Regions from separate parts of the Homo sapiens genome. Here all the other regions are linked to region 1. Evidence: promoter capture Hi-C in human tissues and cell types (Jung and others, 2019). All regions are on one chromosome and are shown on one strand. Each heading gives the region's core, a stretch centred on a gene start or on the middle of the fragment in contact. The rest is flanking DNA. Distances are from core to core; before and after follow the strand shown. Region 1 holds the start of TRIP4 (thyroid hormone receptor interactor 4). Region 2 overlaps CSNK1G1 (casein kinase 1 gamma 1). Region 3 overlaps ZNF609 (zinc finger protein 609).

Evidence for each region. The method cuts DNA at HindIII sites, captures the fragments that hold promoters and counts their contacts. A contact is called where the count stands out against the background at its distance.
Region 2: a fragment that was not itself captured here is called in contact with the fragment with the promoter of TRIP4 in region 1 in 3 of the 25 tissues and cell types used here (IMR-90 fibroblasts, mesendoderm cells and spleen).
Region 3: a contact is called between a fragment that was not itself captured here and the fragment with the promoter of TRIP4 in region 1, in 5 of the 25 tissues and cell types used here (hippocampus, liver, lymphoblastoid cells and 2 more).

The regions. Positions count from the first base shown.
Region 1 is chr15:64,386,248-64,390,800 of GRCh38, forward strand. TRIP4 (thyroid hormone receptor interactor 4) reads left to right here and starts at 1,589. Exons shown (of 13, transcript NM_016213.5): 1 at 1,589-1,717. The coding sequence starts at 1,617. It also overlaps a transcript of PCLAF not described here. RefSeq lists enhancers at 1,304-1,804, 1,386-1,875, 1,805-2,305. The HindIII fragment of the contact is 11,205 bases long and covers 1-4,553 here.
Region 2 is chr15:64,296,170-64,300,310 of GRCh38, forward strand. All of the region lies in intron 2 of CSNK1G1 (casein kinase 1 gamma 1), which reads right to left. Among named protein-coding and RNA genes, the nearest start is that of CSNK1G1, 58 kb to the right of the region's middle. The HindIII fragment of the contact is 7,582 bases long and covers 1-4,141 here.
Region 3 is chr15:64,502,715-64,507,112 of GRCh38, forward strand. All of the region lies in intron 2 of ZNF609 (zinc finger protein 609), which reads left to right. Among named protein-coding and RNA genes, the nearest start is that of ZNF609, 44 kb to the left of the region's middle. The HindIII fragment of the contact is 8,439 bases long and covers 1-4,398 here.

The DNA of each region.
Region 1 (4,553 bases), core at 339-2,838:
TGGAAAATCATCTGCTTTCCAAATTAATGATATCTACGACAATCTAAATGGAATGTAAATCAATACACTTATGAGGTTTTGTTTTGTTTTTGTAAAAAGGCCTTGCTCTGTCGCCCAGGCTGGAGTGCAGTAGTGCAATCAGGGCTCACTTCAAGCTTGACCTTCCAGGCCCAAGTGATCCTCCCACCTCAGCCTTTCAAGTAGCTGAGACTACAGGCATGTGCCACCATGCCAGGCTAATTTTTTTCATTTTTGTAGAGATGAGGATTCTCCTTATGCTGCCCAGACTGGTCCGGAACTCCTGGGCTCAAGTGATCCTCTTGCCTCTGATTCCCAAAGTGCTGGCATTACAGGCATGAGCCACCACGCCCAGTGTGTGTGTGTGTGTGTGTGTGTGTGTTTGTGTGTGTGTCTCCGTGTGCGCTCGGGTGATCCTCCCGCCTCGGCCTCCCAAAGCGCTGGGATTACAGGCATGAGACACTGCGCCCGGCCAATACACTCATGATTTTAATTATAATATTTATGCCAATGAAAACACTAGCAAAAAGGTAAAACAGCTGCCAATTTAATGTGACCACTTAGTCTAAACAGGCTAGTAGAAATGAAGAACTTTTAACCTGCAAATGCAACAAAAAGCCAGAAATGAATGGGAAGACATTATGATCTCCAGAAAAGTTTGGCTAAATTTTCCCCAGCCCATTGTCTTAGCGGGGTAGGGAATTGCAGACAGCCCTTAAATACTGTCATTTTTGGTTGAGAACTCATGTGGAAAGTCCTCAAAGCCAAATTCCAACTCCTGTTTTACTGTTTTTTACCCTCGAGCTTGCTGAGTTGTCTTGGCTCTCCTGGAAAATACATGGCTCAAAAAATAAAATAGAAGTTTTAGCGGTGTGAATCTAGTAGTCGACTACAGGGGGTATTAAAAATAAACACTCCATCCCGGTTAACACGTGAAACCGCGTCGCTACTAAAAATACAAAAAAAATTAGCCGGGCGTGGTGGCGGGTGCCTGTAGTCCCAGCTACTTGGGAGGCTGAGGCAGGAGAATGGCATGAACCCGGGAGGCGGAGCTTGCAGTGAGCCGAGATCATGCCACTGCACTCAAGCCTGGGCGACAGTGCGAGACTCCGTCTCAAAATAAATAAATAAATTAATTAATTAATTAAAAAATTAAAACCACCACCAGAGCAAAAACTTACAGCGCTTACAATACCTTCCACGTGCTGTTTTATTTTACATAAAACCATGACGATTAAAAAGCTGGCCTCTCAGCTTTCCGGGTATTGGTTTGTTTTCCCCCTAAACTGTCGTTTTTATAGGCACTTGCACTGTCTTCTTAGCAGAATTGCCAATGGCCTTCCTCGAGTCCTACGTTTAGCGATTGGCAAGAATCATGCACTGACAGAGCTCGACTCCGGAGGGCACAAGGAAGTAGACAACAAAGCAGGAAGAAGCAGGAGGCGCACAGATGGGCGGGATCTGCACTGGAGGCGGTGCGACCTTGCGGGGCGGTGCAAGCTGGCGGAACCCGCGTGAGAGAGGTTGGTGTTGCGAAGGGAACTAGTCCGGTGCAGGACGTGGGGCTTTTGCAGCTCAGCTGGTTCCGGCTGGGGAAGATGGCGGTGGCTGGGGCGGTGTCCGGGGAGCCGCTGGTGCACTGGTGCACCCAGCAGTTGCGGAAGACTTTCGGCCTGGATGTCAGCGAGGAGATCATTCAGTGAGAACAGTTCGGGTCCAAGCGGGGAAGGAGCTCTGGGATGTGCACTGCCTGAGCGAACCGGGAAGCGGGGAGGACTGAAAAGTTAAGAGAGAAATGTGATAAAGGGGCTGCAGTCTGTAGTCTGTAGGCGTCGAATTTTGGCCTCCACCTTTGTAGTTTAGTTTCTGGAATAGGGTGTCCGGCTCCACAGTCTGCCGGTCGGGCTTTTTTCCTGGGAAGACGCCCAATCTGTAATAATTAGAAATGCAAGGCTGTCCCAGGAGCCAGTTTCCTTTCTAGAGAGAAGGGGCAGGTCAAACTGTATTTCCTAACTTTGAACCCCTTACTCTTTTATTTATTTATTATTATTGTTGTTATTATTGAGACGGAGTCTCTGTCGCCCAGGCTGGCGTGCGGTGGCGCGATCTTGGCTCACTGCAACCTCCGCCTTCCGGGTTCAGGTGATTCACCTGCCTGAGCCTCCCAAGTAGCTGGGATTACAGGCACGCACCACCACACCCGGCTAATTTTTAAAAATTTTTAGTAGAGTCAGTGTTTCACCATGTTGGCCAGGCTAGTCTCCAGCTCCTGATCTCAAGTGATCCGCCCGCCTCGACCTCCCAAAGTGCTGGGATTACAGGCATGAGCCACCGCACCCAGATATACTCTGAACATTTTAGTCGGCCCAATCTGAGTTGTGTCAGTAGAGCCAACAGGGTCAGCTGTGTCAATAGGACCTAGAATTTAAGTGGAAGCAGCGTGGTAGAGTACAAATAGCTTCTGACTCTGGAGTCTCAGGTTCTATATTCTGTTGTCGTTTACCTGTTTTAGAACCCAGGACAACTTAATTTTTCTCTCTGTACCCTGGTTTCTTCATTTATAAGATTAATCATTAGTAGAGCTTATCATGCTTTATGACTCCTATGAAATGGAGATGGTGTACATGACTTAATATCTACTTTCAACTGATTGAAGAACATTTGTTGCGCTGCTGTTACACGCCAGGTGCTGGGGTAACAAAGACAAGACAGTTGGGTTCCCCTTCGTTGATGAGTGCTGAGGTTGGGGAAATGAAGGGGCTTGTTGGAGCACAAAATAAAGGATTCTCATTAAGATTTGAAAAACTCGGAAGGTTTATTGGAAAGGATAACTTTCACCCGAGAACTAAGGAATAGACAGAGGTGGCGGTCCAAAGTGTTCAGGCAGGGGAGAAAACTACAAAAATGGGACTTGATCGAAGAACTGAAAGTGTTCCTTCATTTGATTCCTTGGTCACTGATGTTGAAACCTAAATTGCTGTTCTAGGGCTTTTGTAGGAAGTAAGATGAGTTTCTGAGTTTCGGAGAAAATAGACTTTTGGCAAGGAGACAGTTCAAGTAGGTTATTTTAATGGATTTTTTTGAGGCCCTAGGAGATGGCTCAAGCCCTTATTCCCAGCACTTTGGGAGGTAGAGGTGGGAGGATTGCTTGAGACTGGGAGTTGGAGACCACCCTGGGCAACATAGTGAGACCCTGTCTCTACAGAAATAAAAAAAGTAAACAACAAGATAAAGGATTTTTTTTAACACTAGAATAGACAACAAAACAAAACAGCGAAATCTTATGGTTTGGCTTTACCCTTGCTTGAACGCAGTCAGATTAAGTATTTAGTAGTTTTCAAACATTTTTTAAAGCAGTGGAATGCTATCAAATGAAATAATGAAACTTTGCAATATATAAAACAGAAAAGTGTTTTTTACGAATATAAGTTCAAAATTTTCACTTTTTTTTTTTTTTTTTTTTGAGACAGATTCTGTTGCCCAGGCTGGAGTGCAGTGGTGCGATCTCAGCTCGCTGCAACCTCCGCCTCCCACGTTCAAGCGATTCTCTTTCCTCAGCCCGAGCAGCTGGGATTACAGGCGCGCACCACCATGCCTGGCTAATTTTTGTATTCTTACTAGAGATGGGGTTTCACCATGTTGACCAGGGTGGTCTCGAACTCCTGACCTCAGATGATCCAACCGCCTCAGCCTCCCAAAGTGCTGGGATTACAGGCATGAGCCACCACGCCTGGCCCAATTTTCACATATTTATTGTAAATATGTGTAATATATTAAATATCAAATATATTAAATATTAAATATATCAAATATTATATTAAATATATTAAATATTAAATATATCAAATATTATATTAAATATATTAAATATGTGTATTATATTAAATACAGTATTAAAAAAAAAAGATTGAGGTGGCCAGGCGCAGTGGTTCATGTGTGTAATCTAAGCACTTTGGGAGGCCGAGGCAGATGGATCATTTGAGGTCAGGAATTTCAGACCAGCCTGGCCAACATGGCGAAACCCCCACTCTACTAAAAATACAAAACTTAGTCGGGTGTGGTGGAGCGTGCAGGTCATCTCAGTTACTCGGAAGGCTGAGGCAGGAGAATCCCTTGAACCGCGGGGCAGAGGTTGCAGTGAGCTGATACCGCACCACTGCACTCCATCCTGGGTGACAGAGTGAGACCTCGTCTCAAAAAAAAAAAGGAAAAAAGAAAGATTGAGGCTATTTTTGATAAATTAACAATTTGAAATAGGGTAAGAATGATAGATGTAGTCTTCTCAGTCTAGAATCCAGTTGTATTTTGTTTGGATTACACAGTATCAAGAAAATGCGTTCTCAGGCCAGGCGTGGTGGCTCACGCCTGTAATCCTAGCACTTTAGGAGGCCAAGGCAGGTGGACCACCTGAGGTCAGGAGTTCGAGACCAGCCTGGCCAACATGGTGAAACCCCGTCTCTACTAAAAATACAAAAAAAAATTAGCCAGGTATGGTGACGGGCACCTGTAATCCCAGCTACTCGGGAGGCTGAGGC
Region 2 (4,141 bases), core at 1,513-4,012, 89 kb before region 1:
GAGTGCAGTGATGTGATCTTGGCTCATGGTAGCATCAGGCTCCCAGGCTCAAGCCATCCTCCCATCTCAGCCTCCCAAGTAGCTAGGACTACAGGTGCATACCACCACACCCAGCTAATTTTTGTATTTTTTGTAGAGACGAGGTTTTGCCACGTTGCTCATGTTGGTATTGAAATCCTAAGCTCAAGTCATCTGCCTGCCTTGGCCTCCCAAAGTGCTGGGATTACAGGCATAAGCCACTACACCCAGCCCCCAATCTGCTATATTATCACTTTGTATTGCAATTTGTTTTTCTCTGTCTACCACTAGACTGTGGTATTTGTAGAGACAAAAACTATATCTTCTTATTTCTATCCTTCCCAGAGTCTAGTATCAGTAAATATTCAAGAAATAGTTGTTAAATGTATGATGAAGGCTGGGTGCAGTGGCTCACGCCTGTAATCCTAGCACTTTGGGAGGCTGACGTGGGCAGATCACCTGAGGTCAGGAGTTCGAGACCAGCCTGGCCAACATGGTGAAACCCTGCCTCAACTAAAAATAAAAAATTAGCCGGGCATGGAGGCACACGCCTGTAATCCCAGCTACTTGGGAGGCTGAGACAGGAGAATCACTTGAACCCGGGAGGCAGAGGTTGCAGTGAGCCGAGATTGTGCCACTGCACTCTAGCCTGGGCAAAAAGAGCAAAACTCCATCTAAAAGAAAAAAAAAAAAGAAAACTGTATAATGGGGTGGAAACATTTGCAGAGAACCAAAATGCACTATCGTTACTTTTTTTTTTTTTTTTTTTTTTTTGCTGTTTGGAACCGATAGGTCTACTATCTACCACCACCCCCACATAAACCTGGAGCCCAAAGAAAGTATGCTTTATTTTCCCCCCTCTTCCTATTCATCAGCTTTTTATCCTTCCATCTCATAAATAACAGTAAACAATACAGAAAGAATCCCTGCCCTTTAAAGGGCTTATATTCAAGTAAGGAGAGGCAATTAATAGGGAAACATACATATGGTCATTTCAGATAGTGATGAATGCAATGAATAAAATAAAGCAGTTTGACGAGACAGGATGTGCTAGAGAAGAAACGTGCTATTTTAAATGAGAATGAGGAACAAGTGATAGAATGTTTCTCTGAGAAGGTAAGACATAAGCTGAGGCCTAAAGGATGAGAAACAACCCACTACGCAAAATTTTAGGGAAATAATTCTGCAAGCAGAAGGAATTGCAAGTGTAAAGGCTCTGAAGCAGAAATGCACACGGTTGGTCAGGTGTGGCGGCTCACATCTGTAATCCCAACACTTTGGAAGGCCAAGGCAGGAGAATCGCTTGAGGCCAGGAGTTCAAGACCAGCCTGCAAAACATCATCTCTACAAAACATTTAAAAATAAAAAAATTAGCTGGGCGTGTTCTTATGCACTAGCTATTAAGGAGGCTGAAGTAGGAGGATCGCTTGAGCCTGGGAGTTGGAGGCTGCGTGAGCTATGATCATGCCACTGCACTCCAGGGCGGGTAACAGAGCAAGACCCTGTCTCTCAAAAAAAAAAAAAGAATAAGAAGAAATGCACTTGGCTGTTTGACAGACTGTGTGTCTAGGAAAGGAAATTAGTTTAGAGAAGCAGAGCTTTGTAGGTGGTAGCCATGATGTAGGCTGACTGCACCTGCCTTGACTTTGGAATTTTGTAGTTTACAATCTTCTCCTCGCTAATATTAGAACAAGAAAATGACGGAATGGGGTATGCAGCCCACTCTATTGTCAGGAAGATGCCAGATAATTCTGAAAGTATCTTTTCTAGATACAAGGCCATAACAGTATGGTCCCAGGGCTAATGAAAACTTGATAAGCAGAGAAGAGTAAAAGCACATGAAAAGAAAGACAAGTTCTTCTGACTACAGGCAAGTCCAAATGAGAAACATCAAAATTATCTCAGATTCAAAGAGGAAACAAAACACAATACTACTCTGAAAATATATATGGGCTATAAATGTATGCTTTTAACTGAATGAATTTTTCCCTTCCCACGTAAACTTATAATACAAATCTAGACTTCAGTGATTAAACAGATTTCCACTTTTAATTCACCAAGGTTTTTCTTCACTTTCACAGAAATGAAACAATTGTCTGATGTTTTGAGAATTCAAAGATTTAGATGCTTTAGAAACTGCCTCTTAGCAATCATTTTATGGATGTTTATGTCATAATTATTTAATCCATCCAAGTAGTACTGTGATGTTACAGTCAATTTATGACATAAAGAAATATTCACAGAACTATTCGTTAAAGCAACTCTGTGATTGCTAGAAAGTAAAGCAGTAATTACACATCTTACTCGTATTGTAAGTAGCATCTGCTGGCTTTGGTAACCCGAACACAATTCTAAATATAAAGATCCTTTCATTATCCTAATTAAGTCCTGAATTTCCAGGTTGTCAGCCTTCTAACAGTAAAAATAAATCCATTCTCATCATTCTTAAATTCAAATGGTCTCTGGCTAGTATAGTGATGTTTCTCCAAGGCTCTCTATGGGGGATCAGAGATAAGATTTTGTCCATGTTCTCTATGCAGGACCATCACAAGTAGCAGAGGTGGTCAGGCGTAGTGGCTCAGCCTGTAATCCCAGCACTTTGGGAGGCCGAGGCGGGTGGATCACTTGAGGCCAGGAGGTCAAGACCAGCCTGGCCAATATGGCAAGAGCCCGTCTCCACAAAAATACAAAAAAAAAAAAAATAAGCTGGGCATGGTGGCACATGCCTGTAAGTCCCAGCTACTCTGGAGGATGAGGCACAAGAATCACTTGAACCTGGGAAGAGGAGGTTGCAGTGAGCTGAGATCGCACCACTGCACTCCAGCCTGGGTGACAGAGCAACACTCCATCTCAAAAAGAAAAAGAAGTAGCAGAGGTAACAAACATAATTACATTATGTTCCCACCCTCCCACCACTCCCCCCAAAGGGCCAAAGTTTCTTACAATGAGTCTTCACATTAATCCACAGTCTCAAGAGCTATGAAGGAAAAGAAAACACTTTAGCCTAAAAGATGACCTTTCCACATTCTCCAGGCTAATTTCCAACTTCATATATTTATACGGCCTTTTATTTTCTCTATCCCACTCATCAAGGGAGAGCCATTAAAAAGTATATAAATGGCCGGGCGCGGTGGCTCACGCCTGTAATCCCAGCACTTTGGGAGGCCGAGGCGGGCGGATCACGAAGTCAGAGGATCAAGACCATCCTGGCTAACATGGTGAAACCCTGTCTCTACTAAAAATACAAAAACAAAATTAGCCGGGCGTGGTGGCGGATGCCTGTAGTCCCAGCTACTTGGGAGGTTGAGGCAGGAGAATGGCATGAACCCGGGAGGCAGAGCTTGCAGTGAGCCGAGATCGCGCCACTGCACTCCAGCCTGGGCGACAGAGTAAGACTCCATCTCAAAAAAAAAAAAATTTTATATATATATATAAATACCCAATGTACCTTCTTCCCAATCTCACATTTTTAGACAGATTAATTTTGTCATTATTTTCCATCTCACCCATAAATTCATAATTGAAATAGAAAATCCATTGCCTTAGTTGGGAAATAAAATTGCCTAACTTCTCCTTGGAGTTCTAACTTAATTCTAATGCTGGAAACTCCAGGAAGAAACGCAAACAAATTATCTTTTGGAAAATTTCTCCAAACAGGATGTACTGTATATCCTTGCAGACTAAGCCTGGGTATTACTGAGTAAGGATTTACTCTTTTCTTTTCAGGGGCAGAGTCTGAATTAAACCAAGGCCTTATGTCCTTCTTAAAAGACCAACAGCATCTGCATCACCTGGAATTTGTAAAAATATGCAGAATTTGGGGCTCCACCTCAGACATCCTAAATCAGAGTCTGCATTTTACTGATATCTGTATGCAACTCTATGTTCATCAGAAAATCTCAGAACTGGTAGAAAACTTAAAAGCCCATCGCACACACATAAAGAGAGATGAGCCTTGGATAACAAATAATTGATAATGACTATAGTGCCCCTTCACAAATTATTTCTTAACAACAGGTTCTCCTTAAGAAAAATTTCTTGTAAAACTATAAACGGCTTGTCTTGAAACACACCAAAGCTTATCATAGGTATTGTTGTTAGTAGAAGTCACTGACATAACCAA
Region 3 (4,398 bases), core at 704-3,203, 120 kb after region 1:
TGAATTCTGTGGTGCAGAGTAGCAGTGTTGACTACTAGCCAATGAGGAAGATTTGAATATTGAAATTACTGGCTGGGCCTGGTGATTCATGCCTGTAATCCCAGCACTTTGGGAGGCCTAGGTGGGCAGATTGCTTAAGCTCAGGAGTTTGAGACCAGCCTAGGCAACATGGTGAAACCCTGTCTCTACAAAAATTAGCCGGGCATTGGTGGTGTGCACCCGTAATCCCAGCTACTGGGGAGGCTGAGGTGGAAGGATAGCTTGAGCCTGCGAGGTGGAGGTTGCATTGAGCTGAGACGGCACCACTGGACTCCAGCCTAGGCAATAGAGCCAGACCTTGTCTCAAAAAAAAAAAAAAAGAAAGAGAGAAATTATCTATCTCATGTTCTTCTTTGTGAAGGTAGATATCTCAGGCTATGGCCTGGGAAATTTTCTGTCAGACAAGGATGTGGATTTCCCTTCATGGGATCCCACTTTTGCTCGACCATACCTTCCTCTGACAGAGTGAGCTCTGTGCTGTTTCCCAGAGTTCTAGGAGAGACCAGAGATGGCTCTTAGCAACTGCTGCTGCTCTGAATTGTTATTGAACACTTCTGCCTCATACTTCCTGCCAGCTGAAGAGATGGGGGAGGGAATGTTGAGGAATAAACAAGACAGAGCCTTCCAGCTCTTGCCTGTTCCCTTGCCTTTAGTTTGATTGATGGATTGTTAAGTTAGGGATGGAAGGGGAGGTAGGGAGGAGGGCAGGCGCCTGTCTGAGTGTCCTGAGCTTAGTGCTTATGTCGCCACTCTGACAGGCAAGAAAAAAGGAATTTACAAACCACAGATGGCAACGATCTATCTGTGCTGACTTTGTCAGGGCTTACGACCAGGAGTTTAAGGTGAGACTCCTTCTTTTCCCCCAAATCATATAAAATAGCCAAGTAGGCTCTAGTAGTTAAAGAAAGGATCTAGAAGTTTCTAACCAGAAGCTCCCCCTCACATGTCTTTAGCTGCTGCTTTTGATCTTGCAAGGTAGGAACACTGCACTTTGCTTTTCCCGTGTTTGAATGTCAGCTTCTGCTGCTTTCAGAATGCTGCATATATTTACCACTTCCCCCATTAGTTTAGGATACAAAGAAAACCATAAAGTGTGCTCTTTGCTCTTTCAACTTCTGATCATGCATGCTATCATATCCTGTGTTCTTAAGAGCATCTTCCTTTGCCATTGGTTTTGTATTCCTGCCCTAATTTGTGCCTTCTAGCTTAGTTCTCTTGTATTGTAGTCCCTCATTGCCTAACCAAGGTCAGGTCTCTTTTATTCCTTCTGATCCAAGGCTTTCTTAACGCCTTCTTCCACTAGCTGTTATTTCTCAGCTATTGATGGCAGAGCAGTCAGCTTTGCTTCCTGAAACCAAATGCCCTCAAGATTTTCCTTCATGGAAAACATTAAAAAGAAGTTGATATTTATGTGGGACAGAGTTGCATTCTGTAACTACAAGCTTAATTTATTTTTTCATTCAGAAACTCTGTTTTCCTTCTAGGTGTTGTAATTCAAGGCAGTTCCAGAGAAAGATTATCTTGTCCAATTTCCTCATTTTATAGAAGAAACTAAGACCAGTGAAGTCCTGTGACTTGCCCAGCATCTCACAGGTAGTCACTGGCAAAGCCAGATTTGTAGACACCAAATTCTTATGGCATGTTGTTACTCTGGGATTCTTAACAAATCTTTAACTGTCAGGAAGGATTCTCAATTTTCCCACTTTATTTGTTATTTTCTTAGTATTATTATTTTCGAGATGGAGACTCACTCTGTCACCCAGGCTGGAGTGCAGTGGCACGATCTCGGCTCATTGCAGCCTCTGCCTCTGATTCAAGCGATTCTCCTGCCTTAGCTCCCCGAGTAGCTGGGATTACAAGTGCATACCACCATGCCTGGCTAGTTTTTTTTTTTTTTTTTTAATTTTAGTAGGGATAGGGGTTCACCATGTTGGCCAGGCTGGTCTCAAATTCCTGACTTCAAGTGATCCACCTGCTTCGGCCTCCCAGAGTGCTGAGATTACAGGCATGAGCCACCACACCCAGCCTATTTGCTTATTTTTAAGGCAGGGTCTCGCTATGTTGCCAATGCTGATCTTGAACTCCTGGGCTTATGCACTTCTGCCTTGGCCTCACTTATGCACTTCTGCCTTGGTCTCACTTATGCACTTCTGCCTTGGCCTCGCAAGTAGCTGGGACTACAAGTGTGTGCCACCACACCCAGCCATTTTTTCAATGTAAAGACTACCTTGAAACATTAGATGAAAATGCTTACATACTCCAAAATTGCTTTTACCCCAAAACTGCTTTCACTTGTTTTTCACAGTGACTTTAACATTGTAGACACTCAATAAACAAAGGATCTTTGAGTTTAGGATTTTAGGTAAGGTAATGAATGATGTTTGCAAAGAATAACCATTACAGCTGGCACTGAACCTATCCTGTTATTTATAAAGAAGGAAAGTTACTTTAAAACTGCTACTTTGAGCTTGACTACTTATGATATATGTGTGTGTGTTCTGGAATATTTCATCCAGCCAAATTTTCATTATAATAATTGAGGAATAGTTCTTTCTTTACTTGGCAATTGCAGGTAAGAAAAAAAACCCTGTTCTAGTGCTTCTTCCTTGGACACATCACTAATAGGCAGACCTTCAAATGTATTGTGGATATTACTAAGTATTTTGTAGAGAAGATATACTGTTGGCTAATTGTTATCACTTTTCATTCAGTCAGTACATTAATTGAATGCATTTTAGATACTAGGTTTTCTACTTGGTATTGGGTATACACTGGTAAATAAAACAGAGATGGTCTCTGCTTTTTGAGGAGCTTACAGTTTACCGTCTACAGCAGAGTTCCTAAAAGTGTGTCCCATAAAACCATGTACATCACCAGAGTATCAAAAATGCACATTCTTGGACCCTACCCTAGATATGCCGAATAAGTTTTTGGGGTAAGGGCCCAGAAATCTGTACTTCCAGAAGTCTCTCCAGATAATTGCTATATACATCAAAGTTTGAGAATTTTCCTTTCAAGGTAAGTATTCGGGGCCACTTCTCATTTAAAACACCAGCCTTCTAAACTTGAATTTCACATCAACTCTTATGTATAATTTAGTGGCTAAAAGCGTAAACTCTAGCCAGGCCTCCTGGCTTGAGCCTGGGAGGTTGAGGCTGCAGTAGTGAGCTGTGATCGCACTAGTGCACTCCAGCCTGGGCAACAGAGTGAGACTCCGTCTCAAAAAAATAATAATAATAAATTTTTTAAAAAGTGTGAACTCTGGAGCCAGACTACCTGGCTTTGTTTCCTACCTTTGCACTTATTTACTGAGTGATCTTGACCAAGTTTCTTAATTGTTCTTCCTCAGTTTTCTTATCTGCAAAATGAGAGAAATAGCACCTACATAAGTTTGTATTTATTTATTTATTTATGAGAGGGAGTCTCACTCTGCCGCCCAGGCTGGAGTGCAGTGGTGCAGTCTCTGCTCATTGCAACCTCTGCCTTAACCTCCAGAGTAGCTGGGATTACAGGCATGCACCACCATGCCTGGCTAATTTTTGTATTTTTAGTAGAGACAGGGTTTCGTTGTGTTGGCCAGGCTGGTGTCGAGCTCCTGGGCTCAAGTGATCCACCCGCCTTGGCCTCCCAAAGTGCTGGGATTACAGGCATGAGCCGTCACACCCAGCCTTTAAGTTTGTCTTTAGGCCGGGCGCGGTGGCTCACGCCTATAATCCCAGCACTTTGGGAGGCCAAGGCGGGTGGATCACCTGAGGTCGGGAGTTCGAGACCAGCCTGACCAACATGGAGAAACCCTGTCTCTACTAAAAATACAAAATTAGTCGGGCGTGGTGGTGCATGCCTGTAGTCCCAGCTACTCAGGATGCTGAGGCAGGAGAATCACTTGAACCCGGGAGGCAGAGGTTGCAGTGAGCTGAGATTGTGCTGTTGCACTCCAGCCTGGGCAACAAGAGCAAAACTCTGTCTCAAGAAAAAAAAAAAAGTTTGTCTTTAGATTAAGTTAGCTAATTCATATAAAACACTTAGTGCCTGGCACGTAGGAAGCATTCAATAAATATTAGAAAAAAGAAAAATACAGTTTGAGTGGAAATTGGTCTTAGTCTCTCCTAGGCAATAATGTACTGAAATACAACAACATTCCACTTTACAGGAATCCCAGTATGAATAGATATACATGTTAGCTAAGACTTTTTAGCACTATGGTCTGAAGAAGTTCCAAATCTAGGCTGGGAAATTTTCATGGTGGTGATGTGTTCTAAAGCCCCTGATAATTATAGTTGGAGGTGGGGGGAAGACCAAAAATTAGCTTAGGGCATATTGAAGTGGCCTGTTGAATTTCAGACTTCATATGAATCGAGC